Regions from separate parts of the Homo sapiens genome. Here regions 1, 2, 4, 5, 6 and 7 are each linked to region 3. The links are contacts of gene promoters, found by promoter capture Hi-C in blood cells and fetal thymus (Javierre and others, 2016). All regions are on one chromosome and are shown on one strand. The core of a region is centred on a gene start or on the middle of the fragment in contact, and the rest is flanking DNA. Distances in the headings are between cores, read along the strand shown. Region 1 overlaps TFDP2 (transcription factor Dp-2). Region 2 has its middle 4.5 kb from the start of GK5. Region 3 holds the start of RNF7 (ring finger protein 7). Region 4 holds the start of PXYLP1 (2-phosphoxylose phosphatase 1). Region 5 overlaps GK5 (glycerol kinase 5). Region 6 holds the start of TFDP2 (transcription factor Dp-2). Region 7 has its middle 29 kb from the start of RASA2.

The links. Contacts are between HindIII fragments. The CHiCAGO score rates a contact against its expected background, and 5 or more counts as called.
Region 1: a fragment that was not itself captured here is called in contact with the fragment with the promoter of RNF7 in region 3 in 1 of 17 cell types (fetal thymus); the score reaches 7.3 in fetal thymus.
Region 2: a fragment that was not itself captured here is called in contact with the fragment with the promoter of RNF7 in region 3 in 1 of 17 cell types (fetal thymus); the score reaches 6.6 in fetal thymus.
Region 4: a fragment that was not itself captured here is called in contact with the fragment with the promoter of RNF7 in region 3 in 1 of 17 cell types (neutrophils); the score reaches 6.7 in neutrophils.
Region 5: a fragment that was not itself captured here is called in contact with the fragment with the promoter of RNF7 in region 3 in 1 of 17 cell types (fetal thymus); the score reaches 7.7 in fetal thymus.
Region 6: a contact is called between the fragment with the promoter of TFDP2 here and the fragment with the promoter of RNF7 in region 3, in 4 of 17 cell types (fetal thymus, monocytes, naive B cells and 1 more). The highest score is 9.0, in fetal thymus.
Region 7: a fragment that was not itself captured here is called in contact with the fragment with the promoter of RNF7 in region 3 in 1 of 17 cell types (neutrophils); the score reaches 5.5 in neutrophils.

Annotation. Positions count from the first base shown.
Region 1 is chr3:142,027,331-142,030,191 of GRCh38, forward strand. The region is part of intron 3 of TFDP2 (transcription factor Dp-2); the gene reads right to left. Among named protein-coding and RNA genes, the nearest start is that of TFDP2, 120 kb to the right of the region's middle. RefSeq lists a silencer at 610-659 and enhancers at 1,046-1,547, 1,954-2,003. The HindIII fragment of the contact is 1,428 bases long and covers 857-2,284 here.
Region 2 is chr3:142,228,536-142,231,611 of GRCh38, forward strand. No RefSeq gene overlaps it. Among named protein-coding and RNA genes, the nearest start is that of GK5, 4.5 kb to the left of the region's middle. The HindIII fragment of the contact is 3,566 bases long and covers 19-3,076 here.
Region 3 is chr3:141,736,752-141,739,836 of GRCh38, forward strand. It overlaps RNF7 (ring finger protein 7), which reads left to right and starts at 1,547. Exons shown (of 3, transcript NM_014245.5): 1 at 1,547-1,765. The coding sequence starts at 1,591. RefSeq lists enhancers at 1,090-1,139, 1,180-1,229, 1,340-2,019, 1,580-1,819, 2,020-2,698 and silencers at 1,320-1,579, 1,840-2,019. The HindIII fragment of the contact is 15,473 bases long and covers 1-3,085 here.
Region 4 is chr3:141,231,083-141,233,969 of GRCh38, forward strand. PXYLP1 (2-phosphoxylose phosphatase 1) reads left to right here and starts at 743. Exons shown (of 6, transcript NM_001037172.3): 1 at 743-829. RefSeq lists a silencer at 482-861. The HindIII fragment of the contact is 5,995 bases long and covers 1-2,887 here.
Region 5 is chr3:142,207,871-142,210,878 of GRCh38, forward strand. The region is part of intron 3 of GK5 (glycerol kinase 5); the gene reads right to left. Among named protein-coding and RNA genes, the nearest start is that of GK5, 16 kb to the right of the region's middle. The HindIII fragment of the contact is 1,645 bases long and covers 551-2,195 here.
Region 6 is chr3:142,147,989-142,150,826 of GRCh38, forward strand. TFDP2 (transcription factor Dp-2) reads right to left here and starts at 1,556. Exons shown (of 13, transcript NM_001178139.2): 1 at 1,195-1,556. RefSeq lists silencers at 1,052-1,101, 1,332-1,401, 1,462-1,671, 1,782-1,831 and an enhancer at 1,201-1,701. The HindIII fragment of the contact is 3,426 bases long and covers 785-2,838 here.
Region 7 is chr3:141,456,680-141,459,551 of GRCh38, forward strand. No RefSeq gene overlaps it. Among named protein-coding and RNA genes, the nearest start is that of RASA2, 29 kb to the right of the region's middle. The HindIII fragment of the contact is 9,299 bases long and covers 1-2,872 here.

The sequences.
Region 1 (2,861 bases), core at 321-2,820, 290 kb after region 3:
ATTAAATCAGATTTATGACCTCCTCTCTCCATTCCAGCTACTCTGAGTTTTGAATGAAACAACCTCAATTGTAACAGAAGAAACATCTGTTGCTTTTTTTCTTCACCAGGGCTTTCCTAACTGAAAGAAGAAAGACTCTCTGCCTGACCTCCTCTCCCTCTCCCTCTCCCTCTCCCACTCCCGCTCCCCACCCACACTAAGTTCCTTAAAACTTTTTTAAGTAAATGTATTATTTAAAATTTCACTGTATCTATTAAAAACATCATAGTTTAGAAACATTCACTTCCTTATTGAACTTCAAAGAATGACTAAATGCTATTATATATCAAAAAATAAGACGTGTCTAATAGAATATACGTTGTAACTAAAATGCAAACTTCAAGGGTATAATTGAAATGATCAATTCAATCAAGTTGTCATATATTCCGGGGTCATTAAGAATTGTTTAGGGGTAAGATTTTCTTCACAGTATCCAGATTCATATAGCATCTTGTATGCTATATTTTCTTTGCCAGTCCAAGGCTAACATAATGGCAGTCACTACCCCAAGAGGCAGACACCAAATGGTGCCACCCACACTCTCACACTGTGCCTCATAATAAACCATAAAGCAGTGGAATGCACCGGCCCCTTTATGAGCAAACAATGCCTAAGCTTCATTAGAATACAGCTGACATTTTCAAAGCACAAATACTTTTAAGAAAAATGTACTAGGGAAAAAAAGGAATGAAACAGCTATAAAAGCTGAAATATTTTTCAAGTGTCAGGTTGATTTCCAAGGATCCTTGGGAAGTATATTTTGCTGTTGGCAATTTAAAAGTTTTCGTAAGTGGAAAAAATGTTTAGTTAAGGGCAAAGCTTATTTTATTAACTACTGGGGAAAAAAATGAAAGTAAAAACTATCCTTTGAATTGCTTTCACAAGTAATAACCATGAAGTACCTTTAAAATTACTGATTTCCTCAACTGCTGCTTTAGTTCCTGAATTAAGAAAACTGAGCTCCAGAATTATTTTCACATTTTAATTAATTTATATAAGTAACTGAGTAATAAACTAATTCTTCCCCTCCCCCCCCACCCCAACCCCCATACATAACCCTGTAGTTTTTCTGTCTGCAACAAGCAAGGACGTCTTGAAATCAGCGTGCTCCTGGCTATTTATCAATTTAATATTGCTGCTGCTTAAAGAATATAAAATAAGAGCTGTAAAAACTCACCCAGCAGTGAGAAACAAACTGATCTCTCTTACCTGGTCTAAGGAAGCATGCCTCTCACTGCAGTACCAACAACATTCTACAGTCTTTGTTACCATTCAGTGGAAACTTGAGACTGTGTCAGACGTAAGCAATCGAGCTCAGAAAAGCTCAATTTAAAATACTTCTCAGTAAAACTAAAAAGATGCTCAAGAAAACTGTTTAGTTAACTGGCTTTCAAAAGACATATGAATACTGTTTACAACAAAGACATCTCAAAAGAAATTGAAAAGTGCAGGTCTTAGATGAAGGGGCTTTTCTATGTAGAACCTTGTTTTCTTATTAAATTAAAAGGATATTTTTATTTTAAAAAATGCTTAAAGTACACACTTGATCTTAGCCAAAAGGCCGAGAAGCAATAAAAATGCTTAAAGTAAAAAGGGTGAAATAACTACAAGTTAACATTTTTCTAAATATCACTTGCCTTTTAACTAACTTAAAAAATAAGATTAAACTTACTCGTGAAACCTGCATAATTTGAATTATACATATCAGAGTATCTGCTGGCTCCAAAGCAGTCACAAAGCAGGAGACTTAATGCATCTTGAAAGCAGAGCAAAAGCACCACGAGTTTCAGGGGGAAAAGAGGAGGAGAAACTCTTGAAAAACTGGTCGGGGCTTTTTGAACCTGTAATAACTGTCCAGCTCTTGTGGGAGGAAAAAAATGTCCCAGTCCTGCCCCGAGATAGGAGGCTATGCTTCAATGCCAAAATGAATGACAGGCCCATTTCTGATATCAACAAAGAGCAGCTTAGTTGTGCTTTTTTTTTTTTTCCACTTTCCCACACAGAAGTTCTAAAATTTCCAGGTTAGTCCCTTTATAGCTAGGGTTAAGTACCTTTCTCCATTTTCTCAAGAGGGAACTCAATTATGTTGTCCTGGTTTTTTTTTAAATGACTAATTAAATATACATACCTAATCATCTTACTTAGTTTTCCTAGGCAGGAAGCTGAACAAAAGATGACCTCTTAGGTTCCTTTCCAAATCTATTCTTTTCAATATCAGATAACCATATGACTGTCAATATTAATAAGCTTTTCCAGCATCCTGATGTATGGCACAAGTAGAAACAAAAAGCAAGGTAACATTAAAAACAAAGCAACTGAGATAAAATTTTCAACTAGCAAGATGTAAAGATAATTTACCAAGGTATGTGTTTGATTACAGAAATTCAAAACAAACACTCCAATCAACAACATATATTTGCTGAATACTTATTATGAGCCGAGCACTATTTTGGGCCCTGGAGATACAGTAGTGAATGCAACAGACAAAAGCCAAACAAAAAATCTCTGTCTTTCGTGAGCTTAGTTTATTTCAGTTCACTCTAAGTACAACTCTCCTAGATGACTAAGGTACTTTTCCTTCGTTGACTAGTTATCACCTATTCTGAAATATTCCCCTTGGAAAGTATGTCTTGACAACAGCTCCAGGAGACGCTGTAAAGTATTTGGTGCTCCGTTCAGTGTTGTATCACCAGTGTCTAAAACAGTGTCTGTTAGACACTCAAATACATATTGAATCAAATAGATCAGAGAGCTTCTTCTTACTCAAAATTTTCCTTTGCCAACACATATTATACTTACATGCATACAGAGATATGACAACA
Region 2 (3,076 bases), core at 552-3,051, 490 kb after region 3:
ACCTGTCTTTGTTCTTAAAGCTTAAAACCAATTGTATGAGACTCACCCAGGTTATGAAGGGTGATCTGCTTTACTCAAAGTCTACTAATTTAAATGTTAATTATTTCTAAGAAATACCTTCACAACAACACCTAGACTGGTGTTTGACCGAACAGCTGGGCATACAGTGTGTCTAACTAGCCTAGCCAAGTTCACACATAATAGTAACCATATCAGTTCCCCATTCACAACAGAGAAAACGGCTTTGTATTACCTGATGTTAATATTTAGTATATTTCTCAAAGTGATATTTCTTGGCTTCTTGAAACCTGACACTTCCTTAATGATCCTTTTTATAAATTCAAATAAATTATATTGAGTATTATCAAATCATAGAATTTGAAAACAGGGGCCTTAGAAACCACTTAATCTAGTGTTTCTCAAATTGTTTTCAGATCTTGAACAACTTTGAGGCCATAATGAACACTATCTTCCCAAGAAGATGCTTATACACACAAAATTTTGCACATAACTTCAGGTGCTGGGTGTTGGGTAAAGCAAACATAAAGATCTCAGATAAAAATCAAGATCTTATTTCACTGTTGAGTAGGAGAGGCCTGGGAGAACAAAGAGATACCTGTTTCTCCCACTTGCTTTGTTCTCTGTCAGCACCTCTAACCCTGCTCTTCTCTAAGGGAAAGGAGTATATGGGCAACAAGGCACAGGGCTCAGAGGCTTCTAAGGCCTTTGATAGCTGGTCAGTCATTCTTTTTTCTTAATTTTTAAAAAATTTTATGGATACATAGTAGGTGTATATATTTTTGGGTTACATGAGATATTTTGATACAGGCATGATAATCACATCAAGGTAAATAGGGTATCTTTTATGTCAAGCATTTATCCTTTGTGTTGCAAACAATCAAATTATACTCTTATTTTTAATGTACAACTAAATTGACTGTATCAAAAAATAGTCGATGTTGGTGTGAATGTGGTGAAAGGGGAACACAGACTGCTGTTGGGAATGTAAATTAGTACAGCCTCTATGAAAAACAGTGTGGAGATTCCTTAAAAGAGCTAAAAGTAGATCTACCATTTGATCCAGGATTCCCATTACTGGGTATCTACCCAAAAGAAAATAAGTCATTATATGAAAAATACACCTACACAAATATATTTATTATGGCACAATTCACAATTGCAAAGATATGGAACCAACCTAAGTGCCCATCAACTAATGGGTGAATAAAGAAAATATGGTATATATATATACACACACTATGGAATACTACTCAACCATAAAAAGGAATCAAATAATGTCTTACAGCAACTTGGATGGAGCTGGAGCCCATTATTCTAAGTGAATTAACCCAGGAATGGAAAACCAAAGAAGTAGGAGCTAAGTACACAAAGGTACACAAAGTCATATAACGGACTTTGGAGACCCAGAAATGGGAGGGTGGGACGGGGGTGTGTGATAAGAAGCTACCTACTGGGTACAATGTACACTACTCAGGTGACTGGTACACTAAAATGTCAGAATTCACCACTATATAATTCATCCATGTAACCCAAAACCACTTGTACCCCAAAAGCTATTGAAATAAAAAAATGTGATTTTTAACTATAGACACCCTGTCGTGCTATCAAATACTAGATCTTATTACTCCTTCCATTTTTTATACCTATTAGCTATCCTCACTTCCCCCGGCCCTACCCCTCACCCCTGTCCACTACCCTTCCCAGCCCCTGGTAACCATCCTTCTACTCTCTATCTCCATGAGTTCAATTATTTTAATTTGTAGCTCCCACAAATAACTGAGAACATGTGAACTTTGTCTTTCTGTGCCTGGCTTATTTCACCTAACATAATGACCTCCATTTCCATCCAAGTTGTTGTAAATGACAAGATCTCATTTTTTTAATGGCTGAATAGTACTCCATTATGTGTAATACCATATTTTCTTTATCCATTTCATCTGTTGATGGACAGTTAGGTTGCTTCCAAATGTTGGTTATTGTGAATAGTGCTGCAATAAACATGGGAATGCAGATAGCTCTTCGATGTACTGATTTCCTTTCTTTGGGGTAGTCCATTGTTATTGATTCAGAGGCCACTGCTGCTGTGTGCTGCATTACCTGGTGGCCTTATCTTTCATCTGACCCAGCTGCTACATCTTAGATTCTGGGCTGGACTGCTCTCCCAGGCTGCTTCTCCACCACTGCCACTTCTTACACGTTACCTTCTTAAGCAGGCCCAGGATTACAAATCCTTGTACCAGCCTCCCACACTCTCAAGAAATTTGATTGCAGCTCCTCAGGGCTCGATCAGAAATCGTGTAAAGGTCATCATTCCCTGTCACACCCCAAAGGGAAATGAATGGTGCCTCAGGACTGATCCCAGTGACCTCAATGCCCTCCTTCCTCCAAAGAAACTAGTCAGTGTCCCTTCCTCCTAGGGTGACCAACAATCCCAGTTTTCCCTTGACTGAGGAATCTCTTGGAACACAGGACTTTGTTAAAATCAGGAGTTGGTAGGGCAAGCTGGAACAGTTGGTCATCCTACTCCTTTCAGAAGCTCCAAGTGCTCCTACCAATGTTTTAGGGCCTAATCATCATCCCAACCTCCTCTTCACTAGTCTTCCTAGAGGCTCTTGGGTTCTGCAAGTAACTTCCTTTGGGGACTCTGGCTACATCATGTTTTGGTGTCAGTTGCTGGTTTTAGACAGTGAACTCCTTCAGAGCAGGGATGGGGCCTTAGTCTTTTTTCCTCAAGGCACAGAAAGTATTCAGTGACTTGGCCGAGCGCGGTGGCTCACCCCTGTAATCCCAGCAGTTTGGGAGGCCAAGGCAGGTGGATCACTTGAGGCCAGGAGTTCAAGACCAGCCTGCCCAACATGGCAAGACCCCATCTCTACTAAATATACAAAAATTAGCTGGGCATGGTGGCCCATGCCTATAATCCCAGCTACGTGGGAGGCTGAGGCATGAGAATCACTTGAACCCGGGAGGCAGAGGTTGCAGTGAGCCAAGATCGCACCACTGCACTCCAGCCTGGGCAATAGAGCGAGACTGTCAGAAAGAAAGAAAGAGAGAA
Region 3 (3,085 bases), core at 297-2,796:
CTCTCATGAGGCTTTCCCTCACTGCATCCTCTACTCTCTCATGAGGCTTTCCCTCACTGCATCCTCTACCTCTCTCATGAGGCTTTCCCTCACTGCATCCTGTACCCTCACAGCCCTTAACACACCACTCAACAAATACGCATTTGCATCTAACCAAATGTGACCCTGTGTCCATATTTATGTTTCTGTATATTAATGCATTCTTGTTTCCCCTGCCAGGCTCCATTAGTCTGGTTAGCTTTTGCCCAGGTATCAGGAAATGAGGGGATGGGGAGAGGCTCAGAATCCAAACTTGACAGAGTAGCTGTCCACCACTAGGTGATGGTGGGGTCAGGCATCTCCTTAGGCTGGCTGTGCTTCTGTTTTCTTTTCAATGGAGATACCGGCTTTCTTGGAAACACATGTGATGGTGGGCTAGCCGTAGAAGCACTACTATAATAACGATGTGATCTTTGTCATTTCACTTCTTCAGACCTCATTAGTCCTACATATAAAAAGAGGAAGTTAAACTAGCTCAAATGTACTGAGCAGAAGGAATGGAGACTGTGCAGCTGAGGGAGCGGGGCCTGAAAAATAAGTGTGGGTTGTGTCGCCACACACCGGGACTCCTGGGATCCCGACCTCTTTTAGCGGTCAAAAGAGGGCAAACTAGTTGCCTAACAATATTTAGAGCTATTTCTCTCTTTTCACTCTCATTCTACGAGTGTACACCGGAGTTTCTAGCAACTACATGGTATGTGAAGTCATCCCTCTAATGATAACCTGTAATGAGGTTACTACTGTGATTTTTAATGAATACATTTTAAAATGTTTTAATTTCTTCAAAAGCAAACATTAATCTCTACATATGTGTGTATACATATACAGGAAATGTATGTATATATGAATATACATATATTCATTGTATATGTGTATATATATTCATACATAATATGTGTGTGTGTATATATATATATATTTACACATTTCCTACATAAATAAAAGTTCTTTAAGGTCCTAATAATTTTTAAGTGAAAAGGAGTCCTGGGACCAAAAAGTTTTGAGAATCACTGAACCAGATTTCTAGATCTTTAAGATCATTTATTCACTCAACAAATAATTGTGCCTCCTGTGGCCAGGCATTTTGCAGATACGGAGGATAATGTGGTGATAGCAACATGTTTCCTGCTCTGATAGAGTTTTACATTTGGGAGGGAAGAGACAAACGAATAAATTAACAAGATAATTTCTGAGAGCAGTAGGTTTAATGAAGCCGTAAAGCAGGACACATATCCCTGCACAATCTGTGCGCCTGCTCAGACGTAACACCCCGCAGCGCAGCAGGCAGATTCAGCGGCGTCGCCCCATAAGGGCCCGAGCCCTCTCAGTTGGCCTAGGACGGCGAGGGCGGGGCCTGCCCGCCCCCCTGGCGCTGGCGTCAGGTGACGTCACTGTGCCGCGCCAGCCAATCGTGGGCAGCCGGGGTCTAGGCACCACGGTGGCTGGCGGCCTGCGGGCGGCGCTGTGGCCCGTCGGGCGGCTCCACAGAGCCGCCCTAGCCTTCCGCCTTCCCCAAGCCAACGTCTCCGCCGTCGGCTCCGCGGCGCCGCCATGGCCGACGTGGAAGACGGAGAGGAAACCTGCGCCCTGGCCTCTCACTCCGGGAGCTCAGGCTCCAAGTCGGGAGGCGACAAGATGTTCTCCCTCAAGAAGTGGAACGCGGTGGCCATGTGGAGCTGGGACGTGGAGTGCGATACGTGCGCCATCTGCAGGGTCCAGGTGATGGGTAAGCGCTGCACGCGAGTCCAGGGCCGCCCTGCGGCCTCCGGGAGCCGACCTCGGGGTTGGGAAGGGACGGGCGTCCGTCAGAAGCCTCGGAAAGTGCCCTGCCTGGGAGAGTGGGTGGAGGTCGCCCTGCCCCGGCGCCGGAGGAACGCGGAGCCACGCTCCTGCTGCGGCTCCTGAGGGCTGCGGCCGCCGCCTGGGGCTGCGGGGTTGTGCAACAGGCGCCCTGCGCCGGGTGGTTGGTGTTCTAGGGAGAGAGACGGGCAATAAACGGAGTTAAACAAGGTAATTTCAGGTAGTGATGGGTGTGACCAAGAAAGTAAAACCGGGTGATTGTTGGGAACTAGCAGGAAACACTTCGGTTTGTGTGTCCAGCCCCAGCCCCACCTCTAAAAGCTCAACACAAGGTGGTCAGGGTAAAGGCCGTGATTCAGCAGTGAACTTTAATAGTCTTGGTCACCACCAAAGTGATGCTCCAGAGTCATCTTCCACAAAACGACACCCTTAGTTCTCCTCGAGGGACGCAGGAAAGTGTTCATAGCCATTGCATTTCCGGATTAGCTTACCGCCGCTCTTCGAATGGCTTTTAAATCTGGATTGATTTAAGACGGGTCAGATAGCACTAGCGTGGCTTGAAGGGAACAGTGTGGTTCAAGAATATCTAAGTTTCATGGAAGCTGAAGAATTGTAAGCCCTTTTTTCAGAAACGTAAAACTTCACCTCCATCACACCCCCCTCTCCATATTGGATGCCATTTCCTGGAGAAGATACTGTGCTGCTCTGAGTCATGCCTTTGTGGAGAACCCTCTTACAAATATGTCTTCTTTCTGTGATATTTTGAGTTAAAATATTAGACCAAGTGAAACTTTTCAGAACAGCTTAATCTTGTTATATTTTATATGGTTCTAAGAACTCAGACCACTTTGAAAAGCAGGTGCTATTTAAATGCAAGTTGTATTTTCAGATAGGGCATTTAAAATTACTATGAGACCCTCTTCAGTGGAATTCTTTATTGAGGGTAGTTAAAGAAAACGGACATTTCTATCGTTTGAAAACTGTGACTTGTCTTGAAAAATGAGAGAATTGGAGAACATACAGAGAATTGCTCACCTTAAGGGGGGTGAGACTGTAAACATACCAGAATCAAGAGATTTCGCAGTTTATGCTCTTTTGTCTTTTATTCCTAAGGGCTTGTTTCAAAGAGGATTTACAACAATTGGATTCAGATATTTTTATCTTTCTCTTTTGAAAGACCTTGATATTAGACATGACCCACTTATTTTACATGGATCACTTGAGCCCAGGAGTTTGAGACCAGCCT
Region 4 (2,887 bases), core at 122-2,621, 510 kb before region 3:
GATGTCTAACGGGGCGTTACAGGCAGCCCTCAAGTGCTCTGAGGATCTTCAGCAGCGGCTCCAAGGAAGCCGCGGGCCGGGAGCAGGTGGGAAGGGCGACTGCGCGGGGCCACGACCTCCCCGGGTCTCTGCAGACCGTTGGAGACGGAGCAGCAGCGAGGACTAGAGCAACACAAGGCCGGATGTGTTCTGAGCCGGAAGAGGAGTGTGGGATAGGCCGAAAGGGGTGGGGGGTGGGGGGTGACAGTTTGGGTCTACGTGGCAGCAGGCGCACCCCAGACGCGCGCGCCCACCCGGCGATAGCATCAGCGGCGCCAGGGCAGGCACATGGCCCCAAAGCACCCACACTAGGGCCCGGGCCGGCCAGGGCTGTGTTCCTGGGCCTTGGCGCGCCTCCGCGCAGTCCCTGATCGCAGGTCAGGAGTTGTGAGGCACGCGAGAGCCCTGCGCGTCTGTGGTCGTGGTCCCTGCGCGCTCGGCTTGTCCGTGCCCGTGGCTTTGCACGCCGAGGGCTCTGCAGACTGACCAGTCTCTCCGGGCTGTGCTGGGCCTCCCAGAGGCAGTGTCCTCTCAGCAACCCCGCGCGGTCGCCCCCGCCCAGCCGCACCGCAACACCGCCTCCGGGGCGGAGCTCCAGGGCTCCTGGTGCAGGGCCGGCCGAACTGAGACGGGGCGCGGCGGGGTCGGCAGGGGGCGCTGCCGGGCCCCGCGAGCTCCCCGGTGGCGGGTGCGCGCCGCCCTCGCCTCCCCTCGCGCCGGGAGGAGCTGGCGGCGAGCGCCGAGCCGGGCGCGCAGCGACGGAGCTGGGGCCGGCCTGGGACCATGGGCGGTGAGTGCGGCGCGGGCCTGGGCCGGGGCGGTTGCCGTTGGGGCCGAGCAGCGCAGAGGTTCTAGGCGGGTGGGCGTCCAGGGTCCGAGGTTGGGAGACTGAGGGGGTCCCCCTAACTCGCCAGTGGGAGAGGGGCGGGAAGGCTGGGGGCGCTTCGAAGCGTCGGGTCCGAATCCCGCGACTAAGCCTCCTCCTTTATCCCCGCGCTCGCCCCTGAGCCTAGGACTTGCGCCCTCTTTCCTGCCACTCCCCCCGTGCGCCCGGTGTCCCAGCCCCGGCGCCCGCCCCATAGCCCCCTTCTCCCAGAGCTGGCGCCGTCTCACGCCCGCTGCGAACCCCCGGCTCTGTCTCCAAGCCCTCGCCCCCCGCAGCCCCGCACTCTCCCGCGGAGCCCGCCTCCACCTCGCCCCCGCCCTTCCAGCCCTCTCCCGCACGGCCCCCGCACTCCCGCCGCTGGATTCCAGCCGAGATTCAAGCTCCCGGGATCCCCCTTCCCGGGCGGTCCTGAGCCGGCTAGTCTCCAGGTAAGGAGGCGGCCGCAACTTCGCGGCCTTTCCCGGAGACGGGGCTGGCTCCTCTTGGCAGCCACCTGCAGCCTGACGCCTCCGGGAGTCCCGGGCCTGGCCACGGGGCCGCCCGAGCGCAGGTTAACATTCCTGGATGCGCAGGTTAGGACCGTGTGGTGTAGACCCACGACGTTGCTTTTGCTGGTGAACTTGCCTATGTCCTGATCTTTTAAATAAGCTGGGTTTGTCACACACACACACACAGAGAGAGAGAGAATGGATTTGCTTAGGGTAGGTTGCCTGCTTTGCAGCCGCAGCTGCCTTTTAAATTGTACCTGTGGATGGTAAAGGATTCACGGTGCAGGACGTGGAGCCATATTTTCCCGCTTCGGCTGTGAGTTCAGCGATTGCGAGGGGGCTCTGTAGTGAGTGAGGTTATCACCGCCTGGCTAGCCAGTGTCTTTGTGGAAAGGCAAGGATCCTTTGTAAGCATTCAACAAGTAAAATCAGGAGAGATGGGGAATCAGATCGAGCTGTGAATGGGGAAGTGTAGGGGGGTGGATGGGGGATCGGAGAGTGCTCCACAAATGGAGCCGTTTGTTGATATTTGCAGAAGGCCCGTGGGTGTGAAGCTGGCAGTGCGGAGCCCACCCTTTCAAACGGGATGCGACTGCGGTCGGGCTTGGCAGTAACTTACCCTCCTCAGAGGTGTTGGTGCCCAATCGGGACATCTGTGGGAAGGGGATTTATAGCAGATGGATCAAAAGGCCTCGGGCGCGGTGGCTCACGCCTGTAATCCCAGCACTTTGGGAGGCCGAGGCGGGCGGATCACCAGAGGTCGGGAGTTCGAGACTAGCCTGACCAACATAAAAACCCCGTCTCTACTAAAAATACAAAATTAGCCAGGCGTGGTGGTGCATACCTGTAATCCCAGCTACTCAGGAGGCTGAGACAGGAGAATCGCTTGCACCTGGGAGGCAGAGGTTGCAGTGAGCTGAGATTGCGCCATTGCACTCCAGCTTGGGCAATAAGAGCAAAACCCTGTCAAAAAAAAAAAAAAAAAAAAAACCCTCGTGGTCCCTGGAGAGAGGTGAAGATGCACGGGACAGCCTGAAAGCCAGTGTATGAATCTGCCCCATCCCTTCTCCTGGCTTTCATTAAGTCTTGGATTAAATTAATTGCTTATCTCAGAGAAAGGATGTGTAGGGGGAACTTCTCTGTTAGGGATTGGCTCCTGGCCAGCCCATCCTCACTGATGCCTTGGGAGGCTGCGTTTGGGCACCAGGAACAGCGTGGGCCACCTGGCCTTTGGAGCACAGCACTCCGAGTGTTTGTGGAACTGCAGTATCTGTAACTCTTTTTTCTATTGATCAGCTTGAATAGTTAGCTCAATATTACTTCACTATTGATTAGATAAGTAGCCCAAGGACATACTGGGGCTCAGTAGGGTCTCTCTGTCCAGAAATTCCCGTGGGCTTCTCCTTGGCCCTCCCTACACCGCTCTGTGATGAGTCGCTGTCAGATGCCCCACTGTGCAGGAGCATCTTCAGGG
Region 5 (3,008 bases), core at 123-2,622, 470 kb after region 3:
TCACCTTTATTAATGGAAATCGCAACATTTACCTAGATCATGAGCATGTTACTTCTTTTCGCTTTAGAGATCCAAATGGTCACCATTATCATGAGTACAAATCAGAGGAGTGATTTCCTATTGTTTTAGTCCTCAATCTTGGATGAAATTACAAATCAAACCTACCAAGATGCACACCTTCCACGTTACATGCTGCAGGTGGTTTTCTGAAGCCTAACTGCATATTAGATATCAATGACTAAATTTTTTCAGACATTTTTTAAATGCAAATTGCACATTATGTCAAATTAATTTTAACATAGCTTACTTATTATTTATAATTAAATTTAGGGTAATTTTTCTACTTTGGAGAGTTCCAATAGTTAAGAAAATTGAAAAATTAGTCATCATAAACAAATGAAAAAATAAATGTCCTTTGATATATAAAGTCCAATTTATCTATTTTTTATTTTGTTAACTGCTTTTGATGTCATTTAAGGAATCACTGCCAAATCCAAAGTCATGATGATTTTCTCCTGTTTTCTTCTAAGAGTTTTTAGTTTATAGTTTAAGCTTTTAAATGTAGGTCTTTGATGCATTTTGGGATTCATTTTTGTATATGGTATTAGGTAAGGGTCCAATTTAATTCTTTTGCATGTGAATGTTCAGTTTTCCCAGCACCATCTGTTGAAAAAACTATTCTTGTTCTGCTGGCTGGTCTTAGCACCTTTGTCAAAGATCAGATTGTGTTTGATAAAGATAAAATCTATTGATATATAATTCTTCAGAGCCATTCTACAACAGCACATACTTATACACTTAAATCTGATGTTCAATCACTGGTTTCAGCAAAAATTTATAAGCCAATTTGTACCAGGAGTTGGGTACACAGCTATGAACAGAGACACACAGCACTTTTGCCCTGATGACTGTACTTTCTACCAGGGAATGTAAACAAATAATCAATTACTCAGTTGCTCACTTACAGCTGGAATACGCCCTATAAAGGATAAATAGAGGCCGGGCGTGGTGGCTCACGCCTGTAATCCCAGCACTTTAGGAGGCCGAGGAAGGCGGATCACGAGGTCAGGAAATCGAGACCATCCTGGCTAACATGGTGAAACCCCGTCTCTACTAAAAATACAAAAAATTAGCCGAGCGCGGTGGCGGGCACCTGTAGTCCCAGCTCCTCGGGAGGCTGAGGCAGGAGAATGGCGTGAACTCGGGAGGCAGAGCTTGCAGTGAGCCGAGATAGCACCACTGCACTCCAGCCTGGGCAAAAGAGTGAGACTCCGCCTCAAAAAAAAAAAAATGGATAAATAGAGGTGCCATGAGAGTATTTAACAGATGGCCCCTGTGTGGTGGTCAGTGAAGGCTTCAGAAATGGCAATGGATCTCAGCTCTGAAGGATAAGAAGGAATCAGAAGTATGAACATTCCCAACAAAATGTGCTATATGTTCAAATGTCCTAGAGCAAGATAAAGCGTGTCTTAGAGGAACTGAATGGCTAGTGTGGCTGAAAAGCAGTGAGGGGGAGAGACAAAATCACAAGATGAAAGTGGCATCATTAATTTATAACATAGAACAAGACAATCTAGAATACTGATTTTTCAAGTAATAGCATACATTCCAATATTCACTCAGCACTGACCTGGGTTTATTTTATCTCTATCAACAAAAAAAGGAAAAATGAAGGAAAAGTATAAATGGCAATGTTGTAAATTAATTGTCTTAAACCCTTCTAACACTTTACATCATTCTGTGGCTCTTAATATATTTTAAGTCATAAGTATTTGGTAAGACTCATTAATGTAAGTATCAAATACTACAATAAAAATCTATTTTGTGCAATGGGAATATAGAGTAATTTGTGTACCTATATAATGAGATTGTAAATTAGGGCTGGTATTCTTATTCATCTGTATACGCAGTGCAGCCCCCAGCACGGTGCATTACTCCCTGTGAGCCCTCAAACAGTTATGAGTGAATCCAGGCTCCCATGACTCACAGTTTGTGTTGCTAATTGGCACACACCCTGATCTGAAGTTAGCTGGCAGAAATCTCCCAAGAGACATTGACTAAAGAAACAAAACAGCTCGTGATTTTTTTTTTTTAGAACAAAAGGAATTTAAAAGAACCAAAATGGAAGTGTTATCAGTTAGAGTTATTTTAGAAAGCAGGCTAAACACACCACTTTTTGAATATATTGGAAAAAAAGCTTAACCTGAAGAACATGAAGAAAGCTCAAAGACTGAAAAAAGTTCGTAAGTTTCCTGGTCCCTAACAGGGGGATGGGGGAGAGATAGGGAGAAAAACAAAAAGAAAGTTCAAAGTTTTAGACCTCCTGACAGCAACTGTGAGGAAAATAATGTTTCTATGGCCATGAGGACAGAAATGCACCATGGATGCAGGAGGAAAAAAACAACAAGCTGGGAGGAGGAGCTGCTGGCCAGGACTGGAACGAACAATAGGTTTTTCCACAGGATCTAGTCTGTCTCTCCTTTTCTCTCACAAATGAACAATTAGTGCTTCTGGCTGGCCCTGTGCTGTGCCCATCTGTGTTGTGTCCCGGCTGTTTGCTAGGGCTCTTGTGGAATCTGTCAGCATCATACACCACATTGGCTCCCTGGGGCCCAATGAGCAGAATAGGCTCCGCTCCATTATTTTAATGTAAAAGAAGCACAAAGGCTTTCAGTCTTTCTTCAAAAAATATCCACTATTTCAGTTTCTACAAGCAAAGAATGTTCCCAAAACTCATGAAAGAATACAAACATTTCAAAAAAGAAAAAAGGACAGCCAAGATAAAAAACTCACAATGAATTGCTTTAGGAAGAAGTCTTATCCCTCTACAACACCACCACCACCAGTAAGGAAAGTGAACTGTCTTGAAATCTAACTCTTCTATTCCTTCTAATGGTGATGTATAGTCCTAGCATCAGACAAAAACTCTGCTTCCTAATATTCCGACCTTACTGTCATGAGTGATATGGTAGCCAGGTCCTGATGAAAGCAATCACTGGGGCCAATGG
Region 6 (2,838 bases), core at 306-2,805, 410 kb after region 3:
GAGAGACAGGGACATGATTATGCCATATAGAAAATAGATGAATATATATTCACGAGCTGAAAAAAAAAACAGGTAAATTATTTATTAGGTGAAGATAAATTCAAGCCATGAAGAGAAAACACATGGCCCAGAAAAAAAAAAAAGTAGGTTGTGCAAGTCAAATGAAAAGACACAAAACTCAGATCTCGGGGAGACAGGGGAAGGAGAAGGCTGAGCTAAAAGAGAGCCTTACTGAAAGAAAGCAAATAAGTGAGAGGGAGTCTGTGCCCTCTGAGATGGAATGAGGAAAAGATAAAAGTATTCATGGGCTCAAAGGCAGCTTCAGCAGTGAATATGGAAAAGGAATGAGCCCGTTCACTGTCTCAACACTAAAAGGGAAATAATATAGGGTCTTTTTCTAAACCAGCATCCATGGCAGTCAATAATAAAAGTGCCTAACTAATGCAAGGCATTTAATACGTGGAGGATTTTCTTACGATTGCATTCCATACATTAGTCCATTCACTCCCCGAAACACACCGAATAGGTGGATGCATCTAATTTACAGATGAAGAAACCGAGATCACACAATGGGAGATAGCACAGGCTGGTAAGAGAGACTGGGGCGCTCATCCACTTCGTTGTACTGTCTCTCAGCGAGATCCTAGGAAAACCCTTACACTTCTTTGTGAAGACAGACCTTGGCTTTCCAGATTTTCTCAAAGGAGTCTGGGCCCAAAAAGCGATCCTCTACTTCAGAGAAAAGTTCCTTTATGGGGCATATGAGGTTCTTCCAAGCACACAAAGCTTAGAAACTCTTTAAAAACAAACAAAACACCTGGTGGACACAGAGGCCTGTGAGTCATGAAAGGAGAAGGGAAAAATCGGAAAACCAGATTTAGAAGCCATCCTTCTTTGAAGAGAACGAGAAAGTAGAAAGCAGCCCTTCCCCTCTTCCACGAGGCGTGACTCAGGGACGTTACCTCCCCCGATTTGCTCTATGCACTAAGAGGGTGACCCTCCTCTGCTTTCGACTCTGGCCCAGACACTCACGGGTTACCCGGCCAGGCCTGGAGAACCCAGGTCTAAACAGATGGGACTCGTGGGGGAACAAGGGGGCCCCTGTGCGCAGGGAGGGAAACCTACCCAGGAACGCGCCCGGCCGGGTCCAAAGGCCCTCCGCGCGCGGGCCCGCGCCCTCGCCCCAGACCTTACCGCCTTCGGCTGCAGAAGAACTGGCGGCCAAGCGAGGCTGTCGGGCCGAGCCAGGAGCGCGTCTTCGGGCGCCGCCGCTTCTGTGGCGCCCGCGCTTAGGCGGCGGCCGGGTCCCGGTGGACTCACACCCGGGGAGACGCGGCCTGCCCGGTCAAGGCCCAGGAGTTTGAGGCCCCAGAACGCCAACCGTGCGCGCGCCCTCGAGCCTGCCCAAAGATGAAGGGTCAGGGCGCGCCCCGCGGGCCGGGCAGCTGCGGCAGCGCCGCAGCCGAGATCGCTACCGATTTCGTCCGCCCTCTCCCTGCCCAGCTACAGCCCCGCTTCCCCCGCGCGAGCTTTGGCGGCGGAGCAGCACAGTGCGCGCCGATTGGCCCTCAGAATGTGCGACGCCTGGCGCCGCTCCCCACGGATTGGCCGGGCCGGCAGTGCGTGCACGGAGTAAACAAACCCCGCCCCCAGGCTTCCCTTTGAGAGTAGGGGGCCAACAGATGGAGGGGCGGGACTCGTGCACTCAGCCACCGCCCCTTGGTTCCCCCTGTGGCCTCCCTGGGAGCCCTCCGCAGGACCCGACCACCCCGCTTCCCCGCCGCCTCCAGGGACAGCTGCGGGCCTGAGGCCTAGAATTTTAGACACACTTCCTTCATCACTCCTATCTCATCCCCCCTACTCCCACCCTGCGACTTGGGTGGGAATCTCTTTTCCAACTGACCCCGAAGCCAGAAAACCCCAGCTCTCTTGGAAGGAGGGGGACTGGGGCAGTTCCATTCGGTCCCCAGGCCTTTGCGGGGTCGCCCTGGGGGAGCATCAATAAGGGACAGGGGGGCGAGTGATCGTGATTGAGGCTATGCGTGGGGCCAACTGTGGGACACCTTGAAATTATTCAGACAATGAGTTAGAGACCACTGGGAATGTGGAGGTTCTTCAATATCAAGGCAAGTTAATACCCAAACCAGGACAGGTCATTCTGTCCCGCGGAAACTGCACACACCCCAAATACCCGTACACTTGGTTCCATATGAAAAGATTTTGTTCATTCGTTCGTGCCGAAGTTAAAAACCCCGTGTGAACAGCGCATTAAAACGATTAGATCTTTCTCATTTTACTCCAGTCAAATCTTATAGATCTTCTATATGCCACTTTGTTTGTTTTTGAGACGGGGTCTTGCTCTCACCGAGGCTGGAGTGCGGTGGCAGGATCACGGCTCATTGGAGCCCTGACTTCCCAGTCTCAGGTGATCCTACCACCACAGCCTCCCGAGTAGCTGGGACTACAGGCCCGCGCCACCACACCCGGCTGTTTCGCCATGTTTCCCAGGCTGGTTTGGAACTCCTGGACTCAAGAGATCCTCCCGCCTGGGCCTCCCAAAGTGGTGGGATTACAGGCGTGAGCCACCACGCCCGGCCCCAAACACTATTCTTGATATGGGGAGACATCAGTGGACAAAATAGAGACAAAAACTCCTGCCTTCATGGAGCTTACATTCTAGCAGGATGGGAAAGATAATATGCAAAAGAATACGTAAAACAAAAACTATATTACATGCTGGTATGTGTGCTATGGGAAAAAAATATAAGCAGAGGTGTTGGAGGAATGGCTTCAGTCCTAAATAGAGTGATCTGGGAAGGTAGCACGGAGAAGGTGGTA
Region 7 (2,872 bases), core at 8-2,507, 280 kb before region 3:
CCAATTTCAGTTTCAAACAACTAATAGGACGTTCTTTCCTGAGCAGTGAGGAAACACCTAGGCCACACAGAAATCTGGCCAGGCTGCACAAGTCTGGCATGAGAAAATGGAGGGAAGAACCTTGGGACCCAATCTCCAGAGCCCTACTAAAATCCTTCAGTGATTTCACAGTCACTCCTACTTCTCTCATTTCTCTGAAAAACCTCCTGGGAAACCAAGCTCACCATACTGCTTCCAGCTGCCCACACAAGGCATTTGCCTCTCAGAATTTTTGATAGCGTCCACCCTAAAAATCAGTGAGTACAAGTCTTCCACTACATCCTGCCCAGTGTGGAGGAAAGCTACAGGTTTTCCTGCTGAGTCCTTTTCTATGTTTATGGGTGAAAGCACCTGAATTTCCTTTAGGAAAACCCCCTAACCCTCTTATTCATCAGCCACACCTTCAGACCATATCTGAAATCAGGATCAGGTGACTGGTGGCCACCTGATGGGATTGGGAAGGAAGCATATAAGCCGGTTTCTAGCACGTGTTTTTTTAAATCTCAACACAAGAATGAGGAAACTGAGTCAAGACCTTCTCCATTGCCAGAGATAGAAACCCAGTTGTTCATGATATGGGGAGGATATAGCTGGCTTTAAGCAAAACTGAATTCAAGGGCTCTAGCAAAATGATATCTCTCTCAACCCCTCACTCTCTGTCCCTTTTCTCTCTTACTTTCCTCTGCATTAGCTTCAGTCTCAGACTGGTTCTCCCCAGTTGATAGACAAAGATATCCATGCTGAGTGAAATCAAGTTCTCCAAAACAAGTGAAAACACACTCTTCAAAAAAAAAAATAAAAAGTCTTCAAAGGGAGCAGAGATATTTCTAATGATAACCTCTCAAGAGCAGAGTCTGAATCCACATCCAGGACATCTAACATCAGAGTTGACACTCAGAATCTCTACTAATATAGGGTACGCACCTCCTTTCAGGACACATTAAAGAAAAATTTATCAAAATGACCACAAAACACTCTGCATCGAGCTAAGACTAACTGAGCCAGGCACATACTTTCATCTTTATTCAGAAGAACCTGGAAAGAAGGTCTTGTTTTCACCATTTAATCAATGCAGCAAGTGAAGGCCCAAGTCCAAGGACTCTGCTGCTCTGAGTGATGACAATCCACACAGGAATGACAGCCCCAGTTTACTGACTGGCAGTTCCTCAACCTCAGATATCAACTTACTGGTGCTCAGACTACACTCTCCACATTTCCCTTCTGCCCTCACTTTGTGTGGTTCCAGGAACACCAGCCTTCACTTCTTCCTGCTTTTACCTGGCCACTCAATGGTTTTTATGCATGAAAGCAAACATGTTAGAATAGGTGACCCAACCAGTGTGGACATGTATGAAGATCTGCCTACCTCAAGTTCCAGGAACTCGTATGATTAAGAGAAATGACTACTCTGTAATTGTAGTATAAAGAGAGATAATACATTTTTGTGTACTTGTGTATTATGTATGTATTTTAAAAGCTAATACATGTACACAGAAAAAATAATTTTCAAATACTGCAAAAGGGTACACAGAGAAAAATGGTCTCCCTCCCTCTCTGCCCCCAGGTTTCTCCCTAAAAGTATACACTGTTACCAGATCTTGGGTGTCCTTCCATAGATATCCCATGCATATCTAAGCATATATATATTTTATATATATATAATATATATATGTGTGTGTGCATTTAAACTTACAAATTTTTTCCTTTCTTTTTCTTGTTGTATATAAATGAGAGCACACTACACATGCCACTCACTACCTTATTTCATTTGTTTAACAATAGATAATGGAAAACTTTCTATGCTGGGACATATGGATCTCTTTTATTCTTTTAGTGACTGCATAGTATTCCATTGTATGAATTTGTTTAGGCTCCCTCAAATCATGGGACATTGTATGAATGTTTAACCCATTGTCTAATAATTGGCTAGCATTTGTTTCTAATCTTTTGCTTTTGTGTTTACATTTTAGACATATTTTTATAATACAGATATAAACAAAGAGAAAAAAAGTTTTCTGCTTAACTCTTATTTAACCAGAAAATATGATGAACAGAGGCCATACAATATTCTGAGGGTTCTTGGTAGTTGGAATGAAGGTAATTCCAATTCTGAGCTCTCAAGTAAAACTTTTTGGAATTCTTCTGCTGTGTATTAAATGCAAACTAAACAGAAGTTCGTGTCTTAGGGATCTTTAGTTGCTTAAGCAAAATGTGATGTTGGAAGGAAAAAAGAAACTAAGGGAGGACAGGGAAAAGCTGGAAACAGGAAGCAGAAAACTTCCCTCTCTCCACCTCTTGTCATCTCTGTGTCCCCCGTGTCACCTTTCTTCATTTCTGTCTGTGCTAATCATCAGCCTTCTCTGCCTCTCCCTGCCTGTGGATGGAAGATACTAGCCAGCCCTATAGGACCTCACAGGCAAAGGAATCCACGGCCCTCCTTCCCCACCCCCACTAAAGAGACTGGTTCTCCCATGATCTGATGAGCTCTGGTGAAAGGGACAGAGCCCTATAGTAGAAGATAGCTGCAGGGGCCCCACCCCAAGGACAAACACGGTGATCAGAGAAGGTTGGGTGGGCTGGGAATGGCCATCAAGTGCCACCACGTGGTTCCACGGGGACGAGAGCTTTGTGGACAAGGGCTGCTTAGTCAGTAACTCTGCATGAGGGACCCTCAAAGCCATCACGATGGCTTCAACTTGGCTGTCTAGCTTTCTAGCCTGGAGTATTCCATTATAGATATGTCAGGATAGGTAAGAAAAAGTTCTGCCAAGGCCTTGTCCAACAACAGCATTTCACACTTATTTGTGGGTAAGATGTGGTGTGCTGAATTGAG